3 separate regions of the Homo sapiens genome follow, and regions 2 and 3 are each linked to region 1. Evidence: promoter capture Hi-C in 16 types of primary human blood cells and fetal thymus (Javierre and others, 2016). All regions are on one chromosome and are shown on one strand. The core of a region is centred on a gene start or on the middle of the fragment in contact, and the rest is flanking DNA. Distances in the headings are between cores, read along the strand shown.

What was found. The method cuts DNA at HindIII sites, captures the fragments that hold promoters and counts their contacts. A CHiCAGO score of 5 or more calls a contact.
Region 2: a fragment that was not itself captured here is called in contact with the fragment with the promoter of WWOX in region 1 in 9 of 17 cell types (non-activated CD4 T cells, naive CD8 T cells, activated CD4 T cells and 6 more); the score reaches 22.8 in non-activated CD4 T cells.
Region 3: a contact is called between a fragment that was not itself captured here and the fragment with the promoter of WWOX in region 1, in 7 of 17 cell types (non-activated CD4 T cells, naive CD4 T cells, naive CD8 T cells and 4 more). The highest score is 16.9, in non-activated CD4 T cells.

Annotation. Positions count from the first base shown.
Region 1 is chr16:78,098,404-78,102,934 of GRCh38, reverse strand. It overlaps WWOX (WW domain containing oxidoreductase), which reads right to left and starts at 3,281. Exons shown (of 9, transcript NM_016373.4): 1 at 3,050-3,281. The coding sequence starts at 3,156. RefSeq lists an enhancer at 2,548-3,047. The HindIII fragment of the contact is 3,217 bases long and covers 2,012-4,531 here.
Region 2 is chr16:81,099,154-81,103,353 of GRCh38, reverse strand. It overlaps the pseudogene PKD1L2. Among named protein-coding and RNA genes, the nearest start is that of GCSH, 4.9 kb to the right of the region's middle. The HindIII fragment of the contact is 926 bases long and covers 2,217-3,142 here.
Region 3 is chr16:81,308,817-81,313,027 of GRCh38, reverse strand. No RefSeq gene overlaps it. Among named protein-coding and RNA genes, the nearest start is that of GAN, 4.0 kb to the left of the region's middle. The HindIII fragment of the contact is 554 bases long and covers 2,610-3,163 here.

The DNA.
Region 1 (4,531 bases), core at 2,032-4,531:
GCGGGTCATGTGCATCTTTGTACTCTGGGGCCCAGTGCACCACCCACCCACCCACAGAAGCCTGCGGCTGACCCTCCCAAGGTGATTCATTTACTCATCCCACAGGGGCTCATCTTATGGCTTCTGGGTGCCAAGCACTGGGGACACTCAGATGAACAAGCTGCCCCATGACATCTGCAACCTGGGCAAGGGAGACAGGGCCAACAAGGAGGAGTACACAGCCAAGGCTAAGCACGAAGAAGCAGAGAAACAAGGTGACTAGTACAAGGTCGAGGGGACACCCACAGTTAAGAAGGTCTCTTGGGCAGTGACATGTAAGCTCAGCTCTGAAGGATGAGAAGGAGCCTTTCCCCAACAGATGTACAGGTGAGAGGAACAGCAAGTGCCCGCTCAGGAGCTTGCCTCCGTCCCTGCAAAGGCTACTGGAGCTCTGCTGCTGGAAATGTCCCTTTAATTCTCCAGAGCCAGAAATTCTTCCAGAATTCACAAGCTGAATGAATGCCACTCTCTGGCTCTGCCAACAGAGCCCAAGCTTCTCGGCAAGGCACAGAAATCCTTGAAATGGGTCCTCCCTTCCCTGCCTTAACCTTCACATTCCTGGACCCTCACAAAGATCACAGGCCCCTGGACAGGCCATGCAGGGGGTCTCTCCTCTCACTGTTCCCTCTACCTAGACTGCCCTCCTGCCCCACCCACCTCTACTTGAGCTCAAAACACCGCTCTGGGCTTGGCACAGTGCCTCAGGCCTGTGATTCCAGTGCTTCGGGAGGGAGGCTGGCTTGAGTTCAGGAGTTCAAACCAGCCTGGGCAACATGGTGAGACCCCATTTCTACAAAACATGTAATAATTAGCTGGGTGTGGAGGCACACACCTGTGGTCCCGGGTACTCAACAGGCTGATGCGGGAGGATCGCTTGAGCCCAGGAAGTGAAGGTTACTGTGAGGGTGCCACCATATTCCCTCACGACCCCCCCAACTACCTACACACACCTCATGCCAGACACACTACTTCCTGGTATACACACTGCGTGGGGACGCTCCTACACATGTCACTGTGCCCTAATAAGATTGGGTCCTAAGGATGACAACTGGCTCTTATTTGCCTCGGTATAACCAGTGCCAGCCAAAGGCCTGTCACATAATACCTGTGTGTGTCTTGAATGAACTCATCAGAACTTGGTTGTTTTTCCTCTACCTTGCCACCAAAGGCAGCAGTGGTTCACATCCTTGCATAGATTAGAATCACCTGGGAGGGAAGATTTTACAACCTACCAAGGGAGAGGGGAGGGGCCAAACCAATTAAATCAGAAATTCTGGGCTGACGCAGTGGCTCCTGTCTGTAATGCCAACACTTTGGGGGGCCGAGGTGGGCGGATCACTTGAGGCCAGGAGTTGGAGACCAGCCGGGCCAACAGCGCGAAATTAGCCAGGCCTGGTGGCGGGCGCCTGTAATCCCAGCTATTCGGGAGGCTGAGACACGAGAATCGCTTGAACTCGGCATGCAGAGGTTGCAGTGAACCGAGATCGCACCACGGCACTCCAGTTTGGGCGACGGAGCGAGACCCTGTCTTTAAAAAAAAAAAAAAAAAGGCCGGGAGCGGTAGCTCACGCCTGTAATCCCAGCACTTTGAGAGGCCGAGGCGGGAGGATCACGAGGTCAGGAGATCGAGACCATCCTGGCTAACACGGTGAAACCCCGTCTCTACTAAAAACACAAAAACTTAGCCGGGCGTGGTGGCGGGCGCCTGTAGTCCCAGCTACTCGGGAGGCTGAGGCAGGAGAATGGCGTGAACCCGGGAGGCGGAGGCTGCAGTGAGCCGAGATCGCGCCGCTGCACTCCAGCCTGGGCGACAGAGCAAGACTCCGTCTCAAAAGAAAAAAAAAAAAGAAAAACCCTCTGGAAGTGGGGCCCAGAAAAAGGCTCTTACAAAAAAAGTTTCCCAGATGCTGAAAATCAGATTTACATCCATGTTTCTCAAAACCAGGTGATATTCCACCTCACCTGGAAAGCTTAAAAAAAGAGACTCCCAAAGTTGAGAGTCGGCTACAGTAGGTTCTCTATGGAGACCCAAAACGTGTATTTAGGACATTTCCTAGGTGATTCTAAGGTGCCGATATAAGAGGCACTGTCGTATCTTAAGAGCAATCAAGGAACGACAGTTAAGGAACAGAGAGTACCTACTAGACACGGTGCTATGTGCTTTACGCACAGTGCCTGAACTGACCCTCGTATCAACCCATTTTACAGGTGAAAAAACCAAGATTAAACGTTATTTCAATGGCCCAAGGTCACACAGTTAAAGATGAAGGCTCTGCTGGGGTTTCCAAAACTTTCCCAGGAAATGATAGTGAAGCTATCTAGGACTGCTACTAAAAAATACTCCTGGCTAGGCGCAGTGGCTCACGCCTGTAATCTCAATTCTGGAGGCTGAGGCAGGTGGCCTGCTTGAGCCCAGTAGTTCGAGACCAGCCTGGGCAACATGGTGCGACCCTAGTCTCTACAAATACTTAAAAAATTAGTCGGGCATAGTAGTGCACGCTTGTAGTCCCAGCCACTCAAGAGGCTGAGATGAGAGGATTGTCTGAACCCAGTAGGTAGAGGCTACAGTGGGCTATGATGGCACCCCTGCACTCCAGCCTGGATGACTGAGCAATACCGGTCTGGACAAAACAAAACAAAACACAACAAAACTCCTATCCCTGCAACCCAGAGCCTGCAGGAGGGAGCTGAGCATGTGCGCTTTTTAAAACATCTTTATTTTTTGGCGGGGATGAGGCCGCTTTGCCCTCGCCGCGCCGCGCAGTGCTGCATCCTGAACAGCAGAGGGCGCGCCGGGAAGCCACCAGGTGACCCCCGCTGGACCCGAGGCCCACCAAGGGGGCCGGCCCCTACTGGGAACCCTGGACCCTTTTCCCTGAAGCTCCTTAACAGTTACTTTCACTTTGCACCGCACGCGCTGCGCTGGAGTGCGCGTCCTCCCCGCGCAGGTGGCGTCCGTGGGCTGTGCAGGGTCCCAGGTGCGTCCGCGGCCCCACTGCGGCCCCCTTACTTGGCGTAGTAAACCCAGCCGTCCTTGGTGGTTCTCTCCTCCCAGCCCGGAGGCAGCTCGTCCTCACTGTCCGTGTCGTCCAGCCCCGCGTAGCGCAGCGCTGCCATGGCTGACTGTGGAGGCACCTGGCCCCCCTATCGCCCGCTGCCGGGTCCACTCGCTCAGGAACTCACTCCCGCTCCAAACGAGACCCGCGCGCGTCGGGGCCCGACCGCTCACGCCTGCGCACTGCGCCCTCCAGGGGCCGCTCCGCCGACCACGAAGCTGAAATCCAGTCTCCGCAATATCGCGACGGCCGGCGTCAAAGGGGCAGGGCCTGGAGAGGAAGGCGGTGAAAGTGCCTAAGAGATCGCGCTGCCGCCGGGCTAGACAGCAAAGCCGGAGAGCGCTCCGAGGCGCTAGAGATAGAGCGGAGCCTTGTCAGCCTCCCCGCCGCAGGGAAGGGGCGTGCGCATCCAGTTTCGGGCCAGGACTCCGCCCGTTGCTGGGCGACCCGTAATCACTTCCGCGTTGTTCTGGCCAATCCTGCAGGAGCCCGGCAATTGGATATGGGAAATGTAGTCCAGGTGGCGCCTGACCAAAAAGCGGCGCCCGACTAAAAAGCGGCGCCCATGCTGTTGTCCTGGGCTTCTGTCTCTCCTTGCCTTGGGGTCTCGTGAAAGTCCGTGATCACAAACCTTCCAGGGCTTGCCAGCATTCGTGCTGATTCACAACCTTTGTTTTGCATATGAACACAATGTTAAAATATAACCTGGAGAACTTAAAACTGCTGATTCCTGATTTCCTGGTTTTAGAGAACTTTCTTTCAGCCAAAACACATAATAGAGACTGTGATAATAGAGACTGTTGTTTAATAGAGACTCATGATAATAGAGACTGATGATAATAGAGACTGATTGATAATAGAGACTGTTGATAATAGAGACTGATGTTTACGGAGCACTTAATGTGCGGTCCAGGCCAGAAATGCACAGACATCACATGTAGCTGACACCTTTGTGTAGTGGGCACAACTCAGACAGGGTAGCTAGGCCGGGCTCAGTGGCTCATGCCTGTAATCCAAACACATTAGGAGGCTGAGGCAGGAGGATCACTTGAGGCCAGGAGTTTGAGAACAGCCTGGGCAACATCGCAAGACCCCTGTCTTTACCAAAAATAATTATTTTTTTAGTTTGCCGGGCGTGGTAGTGCACATCGGTAGTCCCAGCTACTCATTGAGGCTGAAGGGGGAGGATCACTTGAGCCCAAGAAGTCGAGGCTGCAGTGAGCTATGATCGGGCCACTGCACTCCAGCATGGACGACAGAGAGAGCTGCTGTCTTTAAAAAACTGCCTCACCTTTAGAGAATTTCCTTTAGTAAGTCTGGAATAGGTCCAGAATCTGGAAAGAAAGGGAGGGAGGGAGGGAGGGAGGGAGGAAGGAAGGAAGGAAGGAAGGAAGGAAGGAAGGAAGGAAGGAAGGAAGGAAGGAAGGAAAATAAAA
Region 2 (4,200 bases), core at 1,430-3,929, 3.0 Mb before region 1:
GACCTTTGCACATAAATTCTTCTGTTTGTTTGTTTGCTTGCTTGCTTTTGAGAAAGGGGCTTGCTCTGTCACCCAGGCTGGAGTGCAGTGGTGCAATCTCAGCTCACTGGAACCTCGGCCTCCTGGGCTCGAGCCATCCTCCCACCTTAGACCCAGTAGCTGGGACTGCACCACACCTGGCTAATTTTTTTGTATTTTTGGTAGAGATGGGGTTTCCCCATTTTGGCCGGGCTGGTCTCAAATTTCTGGGCTCAAGTGACCTGCCTGCCTCAGCCTCCCACATTGCTGGAATTATAGGTGTGAACCGTCACACCTGGCCTGATTTTTAAACACTCTTCTTTTTTTTTTTGAGATGGAGTTTTGCTCTTGTTGCCAGGCTGGAGTGCAATGGCACGATCTCGGCTCACTGCAACCTCTGCCACCTGAGTTCATGCAATTCTCCTGCTTCAGCCTCCCAAGTAGCTGGGATTACAGGCATGTGCCCACCATGCCCAGCTAATTTTGTATTTTTAGTAGAGATGGGGTTTCACCATGTTGGTCAGGCTGGTCTCAAACTCCTGACCTCAGGTGATCTGCCTACCTTGGCCTCCCAAAGTGCTGGGATTACAGGTGTGAGCCACCACTTTCAGCTGTGATTTTTAAAATTATCTGTAGAGATGGGGTCTCACTATGTTGTCCAGGATGGACTCGAACTCCTAGGATCAAGCAATCGTCTCACCTTGGCCTCCCAAAATCCTGGGATTATAAATATAATAAGCCCCTGTGCTCAGCCTGTACATAAGTTCTTAACAGCCTCTGTTGGGGTGGTAGAGAGCATTTTCTGACGAGTTTACTGAACGTGCCTCATTGGTACCTATAGTCTGCCATTCCTGTTTCCTAGAAGTTGTTCTTTCTTTGCTTTAAGTCACTCTTAAATATGTGTATATGGTTGAGAAGTGTGGGAAAGCCAGAGAGAAACATCTATTTATTTTTTCATTCCCAGAACTTCCTCCCATACCAGGCTAGGCCAGGAGGTAAACAGAGCAAGCAGAAGGAATAATAATAAAGAACCACAAGGCCAGGCCCAGAGGCTCACGCCTCTAATCCTAGCACTTTGGGAGGCTGAGGTGGGTGAATCACCTGAGGTCAGGAGTTCGAGACCAGCCCCGCCAACATGGTGAAACCCTGTCTCTACCAAAGATACAAAAATTAGCTGGGCGTGGTGGTGTGTGCCTATAATCCCAGCTACTCGGGAGGCTGAGGCAGGAGAATAGCTGGAATCCAGGAGGCGGAGGCTGCAGTGAGCCGAGATTGAGCCACTGCACTCCAGCCTCGGCGACAGAGCTAGACTCTGTCTCAGAAAAAAAAAGAACGAAAGAAGGAGCCACCACCAACACTCTGACCTAGAGGAAAAGGGGAGACACTCATCTCAGAAGGGGGCCCATGTGCTGTTTAACTTCAGGCTCAGCCGCCCAGCCGAGGCTTACTCTGCGCTGGCTTGGGAATTTGAAATGTGGCAGTGAAAACTCAGTCATCCTCATCAGAGAGGTGGAGGGAGCCCGCTGAGGATAAAGGATGGAGCACACACCCTTGGCATTCCCAGAGGGAGGCCTTTCTGCCCTAAAACAGCTCTCAACAGTGAAGTAACCTAGGTTGAGACCAAACTGGACAATAAAACTGTGATTTCGGCCAGGGATGATGCGATGGCTCAAGCCTGTAATCATCCCAGCACTTTGGGAGGCCGAGGCAGGTGGATCACTAGATGCCAGGAGTTTGATACCTGCCTGGCCAACATGGTAAAACTCTCTCTCTACTAAAAATACAAAAATTAGCTGAGCGTGGTGGCGGGTGCCTGTAATCCCAACTACTCGGGAGGCTGAGGCGGGAGAATCGCTTGAACTCGGGAGGCGGAAGTTGCAGTGAGCCAAGATTGTGCGACTGCACTCCAGCCTGGGCGACACAGTGAGACTCCATCTCAAACAATAAAATAAAATAAAATAAATAAAAATAAAAACTATGACTTCCCCTTAGAAAGAAAAGCCCCCAAAGAAGATGGTTCTATGGGCATTGCCTGGTTCTTTCTCTTGCAGCTGTCGGAGGAAGGGGAGATCGTAGATTTGCTGCTGATGAAAATACTCAGTTTCCTGGGCATTAAGTCTAAGAGAGAGGAGCCTGGAAGCAGCAGGGAGCAGCCTGGGTCTCTGTCCCAGACTCGCCACTCTCGACCAGCACAAGCTTTGCCCAAGGACTAAGCTGTTCGTCCACACGCCACCATCTACCAGTGGGGACGCCCAGGGCCTCGGGCGTACGCTTACCAGCGACTCTATAGTCTCTCTAGGTCATAGCTTTCATGTCCATTGAAGAATTACCAAGCCCAGCAAGTAAAAAAAATTACAATAACAGAGATATATGTAAAATTGCCAATACTATGAGAGCTTCTTTGTTCAAATGTATTTCCTCTTATTATAAATAAAACAAATATTACATGGAGTTTGGAAAATTTCCTGCACAGACTAATTATTTCGTCTTTTTAGTCCGTTGGGGGTTGCTTTTGAATGATTCTAGTTCAGGGCTTCTCAAACTGTCTGAGAGATGCTAATGGATGCTGTATTAGTTTCCCAGAACAATGTATCACAAACGAAGTGGCTTAAAACGACAGAAATGCATTCTGTCCCAGCTCTGGAGCCTGGAAGTGTGCAATCAAGATGTTGGCAGTGGCCGGGCATGGTGGCTCACGCCTGTAATCCCAGCACTTTGGGAGGCCGAGGCGTGCGGATCACTTGAGGCCAGGAGTTCGAGACCAGCCTGGCCAACAGGGTGAAACCCTGTCTCTACTAAAAATACAAAAATTAACCAGGTGTGGTGGCGGGCGCCTGTAGTCCCAGCTACTCAGGAGGCTGAGGCAGGAGAATCCCTTGAACCCGGGAGGCGGAGGTTGCAGTGAGCCTAGGTGGTGCCACTGTACTCCAGCCCGGGCGACAGAGCATGACTCCGTCTCACAAAAAAAAAAAAGAAAAGAAAGAAAAAAGATGTTGGCAGTGCCATGCTCCCTCTGAGGGCTCTAGGGAAGAATCCTTCTTGCCTCTTCCAGCTTTTGGTGTTGGCCAGCCAGCCTTGGTGTCCCTTGGCTTCTAGATGTGTCACTCCCAGATGGGAAGAAGCTTGCTGGGAGCCTGTGTTCCTTCTCCTTTTCTCAGCACACCAGCCATATTGAATTAGGGGCCCACCCTAGTCCAGGGTGACCTCATCTGAACTAATTATAATACATCTGCAGGGATCCTGTTTCCCAATATGGTCACATCTGAAGAACTGGGACTTAGGACTTTGACATACCTCTTTAGGAGCCACAATTCAAACCAGAACAGGTGTCATTCCTCCAAAAATGTTTCTGGGTCAAATAAATATGGGGAATACTGGTTTATAAAAGTTTTTTTGTTTGTTTGTTTGTTTGTTTGAGACAGGGTCTTGCTCTGTTGCCCAGGCTGGAATGCAGTGGCATGATTTCAGCTCACTGAAACCTCTGCCTCCCAAGATCAAATGATTCTTGTGTCTCAGGCTTCCCAGTATCTGGGACTACAGGCACACAAGAGCATGCCTGGGTAATTTTTGTATTTTTTTGTAGAGACGGGGTTTCACCATGTTGGCCAGGCTGGTCTTGAACTCCTGGCCTCAAGTGATCTGCCTACCTAGGCCTCCCACAGTGCTGGGATTACAGGCATGAGCCACCGCACCCAGTCTACTGTATTGTTATAAGAGGAAAATATGTCTATCAGCTCAAAGAGATGAATGGGCCCCTCTCAAAACACCTGGAAGAAATGACCACCTGGAATTTTCCAGAGCTTATACTCAATGGGCAACGAGATGACCTTTAAAATCTCAAACCAGGAGGTTACAAAGATTACTAGGTAGAAAAAGAAAAAAAATTTTGACTGTCTTCAATGCTTTTTACCAAAAGAAAAACACATGTCATATTTTTTGGTGGAAGGGCCTTTTTGTAGCCCATATGTTGATGTTGATGTGTGATCTTTTTCTTCCCATCACATGAGTTAGTGAAGCTGAGAATAAATATGTTAGGGTGTAAGTGGCACGATGCTGCACTGTCTTGTAATGAAACAACAATAGAAAACAACATCTTGACATTAGAGAAGGTAGCCAAGATCTGTAGTGCAGGGTAGACCAGCGTGATCCAGTCAGCATCCCAAACGAAAGCAAGCGGAGCAG
Region 3 (4,211 bases), core at 1,637-4,136, 3.2 Mb before region 1:
ACACACAAGACAAGCAGCTTGGACTTATCTTCTCCATGATACCTACCCAGTATCCCTGTGAGCAGCTGACATTCCTTTCTCCAAGCAGTTGCTGTATTTTGAACATTGCTCGAGCAAGAAACTTTTTATAATGGGTTTATTTATCCATGTCACCTGCTATACTATGTTTATTGTAGCTCAGCATGATTTCCAGGTACCAAGCACAGTACTTGGTGCGTAATAGTGCTAACTGAATGTTGGATGGATGGAGGGATTAAAAAAAAGAAAAACACCTGAATATCAGACACTTAATAAATGTTTCTTGGGAGGCCGAGATGGGCGGATCACGAGGTCAGAAGTTCGAGACCAGCCTGGCCAACATGGTAAAACGCCGTCTCTACTAAAAATACAAAAATTAGCTAGGTGTGGTGGCAGGCACCTGTAATCCCCACTGCTCAGGAGGCTGAGGCAGGAGAATCACTTGAGCCCGGGAGGCAGAGGTTGCAGTGAGCCGAGATCACGCCATTGCACTCCAGCCTGGGTGACAGAGCAAGACTCTGTCTCAAAAAAAATAAAAAATAAAATAAATAAATGTTTTCTGAACTGTATTCTCTATCTGTTCTTAGTTAATTTGTGTTTGCCATTTTTAAAGTCAAAAACCAGGGAGAGTTCTCTACACAATGTAAATATTTGATAAGTACTTATTAATTGCTTATTGTGCTAGTCTATTCTTTAAATATCAGAGGTTCCAAAACAAAGAGCTCCAATAGTAGGATCACAGTCAGGTAACCAATTATCCGAGTAGGAAGGTTGCCTTAGTTGAAGTAACTGGAGGTGAATGGGGATTTGTCAGGCAGGCTCTTCCAGATAAAGGTGAACCTTCCCTGTTGTTTTGATAGAAGGAGGAAATGGAATGACCATCAAGAGAAAGGTAGTTGCTGGCTTGAGAGGATCATCTGTGCAACAGGCAGCTAAGCAGAAGAAGACTTTATATATATTTTTAATACCACCCACACTGTTGCTAGTATTCCCCACCACTCCATTGGCCTGGTGAACTCTTATTCATCCTTCAAAACCCAGCTTAACCATGGCCTTCAGGAAATCTTGAGCTGGCTTCCCAGGACAGAGTGGGTCAGTCCTCTGCATGCTCCTGCTGCTGTGCTGTACTCACCATACTGTACTGTAATTTACTGGTTTGTAAGTCATTTCCACTGCTGGGTTGTGAGCTCCTCCAAGGCAGGGGCTTTGCCTTATCTGCCTATGTTCCCAGGACTTACACAGTGCCTGATGTGTAGTAGGTACCCCATGAATGTTTTACATAATTAGCAGGAGCGTATCAGGTAAATTAGCAAAGCAAACTGTGGGATGTGGGATGTCAGACAATAGGAGTAGGTGGGCTTATGGGAGCTGAAGAGCACATGCTCCTCAGCTCTGATTGATTGCTCTGTGCGATAGGGGCCCAGTGGTGGTGGATCTAACAACTTTTTAAGAGATTCTGACAATTCAGACTTTACATGTTGAATATTCCGGATTTTCAACATTAGCAACTAATTCCATTTGGAGGAAAAAATGTAGCATGGGTCTACAGACAAGATCTGGCTGTAATTCATGTTCAGAGGTAATCAGGAAACGATTAGTTTACTGAAAATGTAGTCGACAATCAAATGGCTGCTAGGTTGCCAATAAAATGTGTTGAGTGGAATTCACATGCCCCAGAAAGCTCCTCCTGGTGCTGTGGGCAAGGAAGAGGGCCCAAGTGTGGGAAGAAGGATTCAGGAGGCAGAGCCAACTCTCCCAGTGCTGCCGGAGCCACTCTTGCTTGAGCTGAAGTACTGTGGACTGTTTTGCAGCCTTCTTGATATTGCTCAAACTGAGCCACCCTTGATATTGTGCCTATCAGAATGATGGATTAAATGTTATTGTTTCCTTATATTCCATAGGCATCAGATATCAACTGTCATTGTGAAACATATTACAATGTAAGAGATTTGATATTGTCCTAACAGCTTTAGTCTCTGGTGGCTTTACTGAGCTCTTCTGGTTTAGAGGTGAAACAACCCAGAGAAAGGATTTATTTATGTATTCGTTTTTGGTCTGAAGACCAAAAAGGATGTTTGCAAGATATTAACAGTAATCATTCATTCAACAACTGTTTTTAAAGCACCTGCTGTACGATACCTGCTACAGATACAGTGATGGTGAAAGTATAGTTGTCTCAGTGTTATTATAGAAGCTTTTACTCTGTATTTTCCTCGATTTCTATTTTCTGTACTGATCATGCATAATTTTTTACAATCATTAAAAAAACAAGAAAGCAATGTCTTTTTGCAAAAAGGGAAAAAAAAGCTTTCTTTTGCTTTGAAAAATGTGCCCTCAAGAGAGGAATCCACTTGGGGGGTTGGGCTTTTATTTCCTAAAAACTACTTAGAGAGTCCAGTAAGAGAAATAATGCAAAGAAAATATTAACAGTTTGAAAATTCTTTAGCAAATATCAAGTCCAACGGATTTATCTTATTGAAGAGAAAACCAAAGTACAGATGAGCAAATGACTCAGTCAAGGTTATAGGTGTGACCCAGTCAGGGCAGAACAGACTAAGGTCTAGATCTTCTGCTTTCCAGCCCTGTAAGCTTTTCCATTACACCAAGTCGACTTGTCATAAACATTCATTTGTTTGAGACAGTCTCTTCTGATTCATTTTAAGGTAGTCTTCAGATATTTTATTGGGTAAATCTTTCATTTGTCCAAATCTATATATAGCTGTTTTCTTTCCAAAAAAAAGTCTAGGCTCTTTCAAATTGCTGAGTCAGAGAACATCTCAGTATTTATAACGCTTCAGAGTTGGTTCTATATATTTACACAGTACTCAGAGAAGTGTCTCAGAAACCGGTGAACTAATTAAATTGTAATGAAACTCCATGAAGGTCGTAACTGTTCCTATCCAAATTCATCATGTATTCTACCCCAGCACCCAGTACAGTGCCTGACACACAGTAGGTGCCCAATAAATATTTGCTGAAGGAATAAATTCTAATAGAATTGAGATTTTTCTGTTTACAAGGGATTACTTCACATGTTATTTTTCATATTTCCCCAATGAACTCAAAACGGAAATATTCACCAGCCTGCTTAACATTGCCATTTGAATAATAGAAACCTAGAATTTAACACCTCAGAAAGTAAGCTTCTACTTAAAAAAAAAAATTAGCTGGGTGTGGTGACACCTACCTTTAGTCCCAGCTACTCGGGAGGCTGAGGTGGGAGGATCACTTGAGCCCAAGAGGTCGAGGCTGCAGGGAGCCGTGATCATGCCACTGCACTCCAGCCTGGGAGACACAGTAAGGCCCCATTTCAAAAAAAAAAAACAAAAAGTCCTGATTTTACCCCTAAACCTACTCATTTTCCAAGTAAATGGCAGCAGCATTCATTTACCTAGAGACAGAAACTTAGGGTCATTCTTGACCTCTGTCTCTCATACCCTTCATCCAATTCTCTAGTGAATCCTGCAGCTCTTCCTGCAGACTACTTTTTTTTTTCTTTTCTTTTCTTTTCTTTTTTCTTTTTTTGAGACAGAGTCTTGCTCTGTCACCCAGGCTGGAGTGTAGTGGCTCACTGCAGCCTCCACCTCTGAGATTCAAGTGATTGTCCTTCCTCAGGCTCCCCAAGTAGCTGGGATTACAGGTGCCCACCACCACACCCAGCTAATTTTTGTATTTTTAGTAGAGACAGCATTTCACCATGTTGGTCAGGCTGGTCTCGAACTCCTGACCTCAGGTGATCCGCTCACCTCAGCCTCCCAAAGTGCTGGGATTACAGGTGTGAGCCACCATGCCCGGCCCTGCAGGCTAACTTCTGAATCCAGCCACTCCTCCCCACCTCCACCAAGACCACGCTGATCCAGGTACCATTCAGCTCTCCTGCAACAGCCTCCTAACTGCTCCCCCTGCTTTCTCTCTTGCCCCCTTATGAATTGTTTCTCCTCCTAAGGTAATCAGATCAAGTCACTTCCCAGTTCAAAGCTCTTCCATGGCTTTCCTTCAAACTTAGGGAAAAAACCCAAAGCCCTTACCATGGTCTAAAAAGCCCTGCGTGATCTGGCTTCCTCCATGGCCTCATTTCCTGCCATTCTCCCCTCAGTGTGCACCAACCAAACTGGCCTTCTTGCTCTTTCTTGAACAAGCCTAGTATATTCCCACCTCAGGGCTTTTGCACTGGCTAATTGCTCAGCCTGGAA